Regions from separate parts of the Homo sapiens genome. Here region 1 is linked to region 2. The links are contacts of gene promoters, found by promoter capture Hi-C in blood cells and fetal thymus (Javierre and others, 2016). All regions are on one chromosome and are shown on one strand. Each heading gives the region's core, a stretch centred on a gene start or on the middle of the fragment in contact. The rest is flanking DNA. Distances are from core to core; before and after follow the strand shown.

Region 1 (3,249 bases), core at 88-2,587, about 14 Mb before region 2:
AGAGGTATGCAGGTCTATGACACAGGGCCTTACAATCCTTTTAAAGGACTTTCACTTTTATTAATCCAGGAGAGAGCTGGTGATGGCCTGGAGCAGGGTAGTAGCAATGGATGTGGTGAGGAGTGGAGTGCAATGGCGCCATCTCCGCTCACTGCAACCTCCACCTCCCGGGTTCAAGAGATTCTCATGCCTCACCCTCTCGAGTAGCTGGGATTACAGGCGTGCACCACCATGCCAGGTAATTTTTTTGTATTTTTAGTAGAGACAGCGTTTCGCCATGTTGGCCAGGTTGGTCTCGAACTCCTGGCCTCAAATGATCCGCCCGCCTCTGCATCTCAAAGTGCTGGGATTACAGGGGTGAGCCACCGCTCCTGGCTGATTTTGGCTACATTTTAAAGCCAACAGGATTTGCTCGCATACTGGCCTGGGGGAGGAGAGAGAGTTAGGGAGTCAAGAATAGCTCCAAGGTTTTTGGGCTCAATAACTGTAAGGGAAGAATGGAATTATTTACTGAAATGAGAAAAACTGGAGGATCTTGTTGGGGGTTAAAGCTCAGGTTTTGGACATATTAGCTAAGTTTGAATTACTAGACATTGAAAAGAATTTGTCAAGAAGACATTCGGATATATGAGTCTAGAATTCAGAGGAGAGGTCTGCGCTGAGTATATACATTTGTAAGTCCTCAGTATATGGTATTTAAAAGCCATGAGATTGGATGAAAAACTGTCACCAAGGAAGCGAGTGTGCCTAGAAAAGAGGTCCAAGGGCTGAGTACTGGGCCACGACAATACTTAAAGCTTGGGGAGATTAGGAGGAACCAGCAAAGCAAATCGAGAAGTAATAAATGAAGAGGTGAACTACGTAATGACCTAGAAGCCAAGGGAGGAAACTATTTCAAGACTGATCAATGTGTCAAATGCCGCTAACAAAGCAAGACAAGGCACATTAAAGAATTTGGATTTTTCACGAAACCGAGACACATGCGGGCTTTGTTGTTGTTGTTTTTATGGAGGGAAGTGAGTCCATCGGCCTTATTTGAGCGTTGTGCGGAACAGAGGAAAGCGGGGCGACAAGAGCCCAAAGCACAAGAGACAGGCGTTCTTCTTACCGTGCGACGAAGTGTAGGCCCAGCTGTAAAAGAGAAAGAGACTTGTGAGGAGCAAAGGAACACCTACCCGCTCGCCTCCCGCTTCCCCTCCAGTCCTCTTACAGGAGGTAGCGGGCTTGGCCCGGGCAGCTGTCGTGCAGTCCCCGCGCTGCAGCCTCAAGGTAGTGCTTCTGTCTCATCGCCGCCGCCGCTGCCGCTGGCTCGCCGCGGGAACCAGGTGAGAAAATAGGGCGCCGGAAGTCGGCTTCCCAGCGTCCCCGTCGTTGGTGTCCGGACTCAAGCTGCTTCCGGAAACAGGCACCGTAGGCAGACAGGTTCCGGTTTCCTTCGCGTCCAGTCTGGCTTGGAGGCGTGCCCAGCCGGGAGGCGGCCCCACCCGCCCGCCGCGTCCCCGCCCCCTCAGTTCCACCCCTTGGCCTGCCGGGTCCTCTCAGGCACCCAGCGGAGTTTCGAGTCAGACTTGAGCTCGGGCGTAGCGGCTAGACCGGGCTGTGGCGATAGAGTCCAAAGGTGAGGCTCCCACCCGCCTCTCCATCTTCCTCCCGCCTCGCCTCCTCTCTGACAGCCCTTTTGTGATTGCCCTGCCGCAGCTTCGCCCTCCACATTCGCCGGGCGCGGTACTGACTGGTGCGCCGGCGGGCGGAAGCGCTGCCAGCAACGAGGCGGCCGGGAGGAGCGTCCCCAGTCCAGCCTGCCCTCCGCCTGCGTAAACGCTAGCGTTTCTCTTTTTGTAATTAAAGTGAAATTCACATAACGTAATATTGACCATTTTAAGGTGAACAATTCAGTGGCGTTTAGTAAATTTACAATGTTGTGCAAGCACCATTCTGCTATTTCCAAAATATTTCGCCGAAGGACAGCCAACTCCATGAAGCACTTACGGCCAATCCTCCTCTCCCTCCCAGGCCTTGGCAACCACCAGTCCGCTTTCTGTCTCTATGGATTTACCTATTCTGGGCATTTCATGTAAATGGAATCATACACACGACCTTTTGTGTCTGGCTTCCTTCACCTAGCATAATGTATCAGGTTCATCCACCTTGCAGCACGTATCAGTACTTCATTCGTTGTTATGGCTGAATAATATTCCATTGTATGGCGGTATCACAATGGTTTATCCATTCATCAGTTGAACGTTTGAATTGTTTCTACTTTTTGGCTGTTATGAATGAATGCCGCTGTGAACATGTGTGTACATGCATTTGTTTGAGTGCCTTTTTTCTGTTCTTCGGGGTATAATACCTAAGAGTAGATCTGCTGGGTTATGTAGTAATTCTGTGCTTAATGAGGGTTCCAGTTTCTCCGTATCCTCACCAACATTTGCTTTTCTTTTTCTTTTTTTTTTAAATCTAGCCTTCCTAGTGAGTATGATGTAGCATCTCATTGTGGTTTTGATTAACATTTCCCTGACTACTGATGCTTTTGAGCAGCTTTTCATGTGCTTGTTGGCAATTTATGTATCTTTGGCTGTTTAAGTTCTTTGCTCATTTTTTATTGGAGTTGTCTTTTTGTTGATAAGTTGTAAGGTTCTTTTAATGTGTATGTTCTGGATAGTGGACCCTTATTTAGCCTGCTTTATTTATTTATCTGAGATGGGATCTCACTCTGTTGCTCAGGCTGGAGTGCAGTCGTGTGATCACAGTTCACTGCATTCTTGAATTCCTGGGCTGGGTTAAAGGGTTCTCTTGCCTCAGCCTCCCTAGTAGCTGGGAACCAGGCACACTACCATGCGTAGGTATTGTTGTTGTTGTTGTTGTTGTTGTTATTATTATTATTATTTTGGTAGAGATGGGCGTCTCACTATATTGCCCAGGCTGGTCTTGAACTCCTGGGCTCAAGTGATCCTCCCACCTCAGCCTCCCATAGTGTTAGGATCACAGGTATGAGACACTATGCCCAGCCCATTTTTAATTTTAAAAGGGAGCTAAATTGGCTAGGCGCAGTGGCTCACGCCTGTAATTCCAGCACTTGGGGAGGGCAAAGCGGGTGGATTGCCTGATCTCAGGAGTCGGCGACCAGCCTGGGCAACACGGTGAAACCCTGTCTCTACTAAAATACAAAAATTTAGCCAGGTGTGGCGGCATGCGCCTGTAGTTCCAGCTACTTGGGAGGCTGAGGCACAGGAATCGCTTGAACCCAGG
Region 2 (3,504 bases), core at 11-2,510:
GCCTGGGTGACAAGAGTGAGACTCCATCTCAAAAAAAAAAAAAAAAATTAGCCTGGCATGGTGTCGTGGGCTTCATACATGCAGTTCTCAGGGAGGCTGAGGCAGGTGGGATCGCTTGAGCCCAAGTCGAGGCTGCAGTGAGCCGTTACTGTGCCACTGCACACCAGCCAGGGCTACACAGCAAGATCCTTCCTGTCACAAAAGAAAGAAGTGTGGGAACCATGAATCCTAGTGATAGAATCTTGGATTCTATCTCTAGAGGCGTCCAAGAGCGAGCCAAAGCTTTGTCTGAACACTCAGTCTGACTAAGTCTAGCAGAATATTTTACAATTTCTGATGATTCTTGCACTCTGATACACAGGAAGAAAGTGTGCAAGGAGAGGGCGAAGCCCTGCATTTTTTGGAGGTGCTGGAGGGCAGTGTAGGGACTGCACCCTCCTTTTTTTTTTATTTGAGACAGGGTCTCACTCGTCCAGACTAGAGTGCAGTGGCCCAGTCTCAGCTCACCACAACCTCCGCCTCCCAGGCTCAAGGGATTCTCCCGCCTCAGCCTCTCGAGTAGCTGGGATTACAGTCGCACGCCACTACCACCCGGCTAATTTTTGTATTTCTAGTAGAGACGGGGTTTCACCATGTTGGCCATGTTGGCCAGGCTGGTCTCGAACTCCTAACCTCAAATGATCCACCCGCCTCTGCTTCCCAAAGTGCTGGGATTACAGGCGTGAACCACCGCGCCCGGCCCCACCCTCCTTCTTTACATTGGCTCATATGGAAGACCAAAGGCACTTGGATTATACATCGCAGACAGAAGCAGCCAAAACCTACATGGCAACCAGTTGCGACAAATTTCCAAGGTAAACCACAACCGCTGGGGGCCTGGGTGGTTTTCAGCTCAAAGCGATGACCCCAGGAACGACAAGCGGCCGCCGCTAGGGGGCGCCGCCACTTCCCTGCCAGGCGACCACCCGCGGAGGCGCGCGCGCTAGGCCTCCCACCGCGCCTGCGCTGAGGATGGACACTAGCTCGCCTTTCCTCGACGCCCAGCCGTCCGGGCCGGGGTGAAAAACTGCGTGACACGCAGTGAGCGTGGCGGCCATCTTCGTCTTCTGGGCACGTCAGCTGAGCCGGTTAGGGCTGAAGAGGAGCGTTGCGCAAGCGCACCCAAGACGGTCACAGGTAACTCCCATCTGACGAGCGAGGCGTCGCCGTCGTCGCCGGAAGTTTGGTGTTTGCGCCGCGGGGGAGGCGGCGGCCGCAGCAGAAGCAGCTGAGTGTCTCCTGATACCCGGATGTGAGGCGATCCGCTGGCGCTAGTCTGACCCTCCGCCAGGCAAAAGGAAGGTACGCGAGCGTCCCTGACGGTCCCCGCCGCCTGTGTCTTCACCTCTCTTTTGCCAGCCCCTTCAGGGAGCGGACAGTTCTCCCTCTTCCTGTTCCACCCTCGGTGGCGTGTTGCCTCGCACGCCCCTTCCTACTGCTCCGGTCCCAGCTCTTCGCGCCCCTGGGAGGGAGGTGGGAGGCTCTAGGCTCCAAGACGCCGTCGCTTGAGGTAGGCAGCTAACGTGCTCGCGTGTCCGCGCACCACCTGCCGCTGTTTGCTGGGCGGTCGAAGTTCATAAGGGGTCGTGACCGCCGACGGGGCAGGGCCGGAGTTCCCAGCACTGCCGCGAGGGCTCCGGGAGCCCCGAGGTGGCGCGCAGCCATTGCTAGCACCGGGGCAGCGCCAGTGCTGGTCCCGCAGGTAGCTCCGGGCCCCGTCTCCGCCCCCTGCGTTTTCTCTTCCCGGCGCTTCACCGGAGCCAGTCCCTCGCCGCCTCCTGGCGCAACCCGCTGACCCGGCCTGAGCCTGGAGGCCTCTGCAGTTTGCGGGGCGCGATGTGGGGTCTTGGTTTTACAGCCTTCAGTTTGGGAGGGGAGCGGGCCCAAGGTCATAGAGTAACTCATGCTGCAAATGGGGGTCTCGGCACAGGTAGGGCGGCTCTGGAGTAGAAATGAGTGCATTGAGGGCCGCAGTGAAGTTTATAGCGATGGAGAGAGGCGAACCAAAGAGAATTGGGTCCTCGATTTTTATCACGGGTTAAGATTATTTTACTATGGGGGTTTATTTTGCACAGGCAGAATGGGATAGCAAGTCCAACAATTCGAAGACTACCTCCTCTCCCTCCGCCTCTCAATGATGCGTCCGAAAATCCGGCGTGTGCTTTATTTTCCGGGGCGATGGGGACGCAGCGGGGACCAGGGGAGGGAGGAAGAGGAGGAGGAAGGAGCTCAAGCTTTGCGATTTGAGAAGTACTATGAACCATGTTTTCTGTAGTCTTAGCTGCAATGAGATTCCTTTAAACAGGAATCGCAGCACACAGTATCTAGATAGTATTACAAAACGATATCTCAATAAATAAGCTTCGCAGGAAACAAAAGCGCTACTTGGTGGCATAAGGTGTGGTTAGTCCCCCCACCAGCATTGGCTTTTTTAAAAAAGTGGATAAAACATAGATTTCAGTTGAAAACATCCAGGTTGCAGTGAACTATGCTATATTCACTTTGTCTTCTGGTCAAGTACTTAGTTTCTGCTTTACACAGGACACCAACACGAATAAAGTTTTAAGTTATTATTTTATTTTGAGACGGGGTCTCGCTCTGTCGCCCAGACTGGATTGCAGTGGTGTAATCACTGTTCACTGCAGCCTTGACCTCCCTCCCCGGCCCCAAGCAATCCTCCCACCTCCGCCTCCCTGAGTGGCTGAGACTACAGGCGTCCGCTACCATGTTAGGCTAAGTTTTCTATTTGTTGTTGAGACGGCGTTTCGCCATGTTGCCCAGGCTGGTCTCGAACTCCTGGGATCAAGTGATCACCTGGGCCTCCAAAAGTGCTGGGATTACAGGCCTGAGCCACTGTGCCTGGTGAATTTTTTTTTTTTTTTGAAAAGCAAAAAATCTAATCAATGGAATTAGACATGGGAGTAGGATGAGAAGTGCTTTAAAACGTGCTTAATTTGGAAGTCGCAAATTCAGGCCTAGAGCATGTGAGGAAATGAGGAAACTAGGACTGTAATAGAGCCACTTTTTCCCTTTTAGGCAGAATGCAGAGTATCACTGTTGGGTCAGATATGTGACTTTGGAAGCACAATTCCAAAATTTGTCCTGGCTTACGAGCTAGAACTCCTTTATCATTGCTAACTGAGGAAAATATGCTATTGTCTCACCTTTCTCAATCAATATTATAATCCTGTAGTGAACAAGTAATTGTTTGTTTTTTTTTTTTGAGATGGAGTCTCACTCTGTCGTCCGGGCTGGAGGGCAGTGGCGAGATCTCGGCTCACTGCAATCTCCGCCTCCTGGGTTCAAGTGATTCTCCTGCCTCGGCCTCCCGAGTAGCTGGGATTACAGACAAGTGCCACCATGCCCGGCTAATTTTTTTGTATTTTTAGTAGAGATAGGGTTTCACCGTGTTGGCCAGGCTGGTCTTGAACTCCTGACCTCAGGTGATCCGCCTGCCTCGGCCTC

The links. The method cuts DNA at HindIII sites, captures the fragments that hold promoters and counts their contacts. A CHiCAGO score of 5 or more calls a contact.
Region 1: a contact is called between the fragment with the promoter of RMP24 here and the fragment with the promoter of ESCO1 in region 2, in 1 of 17 cell types (total CD4 T cells). The highest score is 5.7, in total CD4 T cells.

The regions. Positions count from the first base shown.
Region 1 is chr18:35,970,767-35,974,015 of GRCh38, reverse strand. RMP24 (ribonuclease MRP subunit p24) reads right to left here and starts at 1,337. Exons shown (of 5, transcript NM_031446.5): 1 at 1,211-1,337; 2 at 1,109-1,131. The coding sequence starts at 1,287. LOC105372066 (a long non-coding RNA gene) reads left to right here and starts at 1,565. Exons shown (of 4, transcript NR_188032.1): 1 at 1,565-1,618. RefSeq lists an enhancer at 655-1,547 and silencers at 1,467-1,616, 1,556-1,850. The HindIII fragment of the contact is 7,007 bases long and covers 800-3,249 here.
Region 2 is chr18:21,598,460-21,601,963 of GRCh38, reverse strand. It overlaps ESCO1 (establishment of sister chromatid cohesion N-acetyltransferase 1), which reads left to right and starts at 1,260. Exons shown (of 12, transcript NM_052911.3): 1 at 1,260-1,341. RefSeq lists enhancers at 1,035-1,554, 2,622-2,916. The HindIII fragment of the contact is 1,991 bases long and covers 285-2,275 here.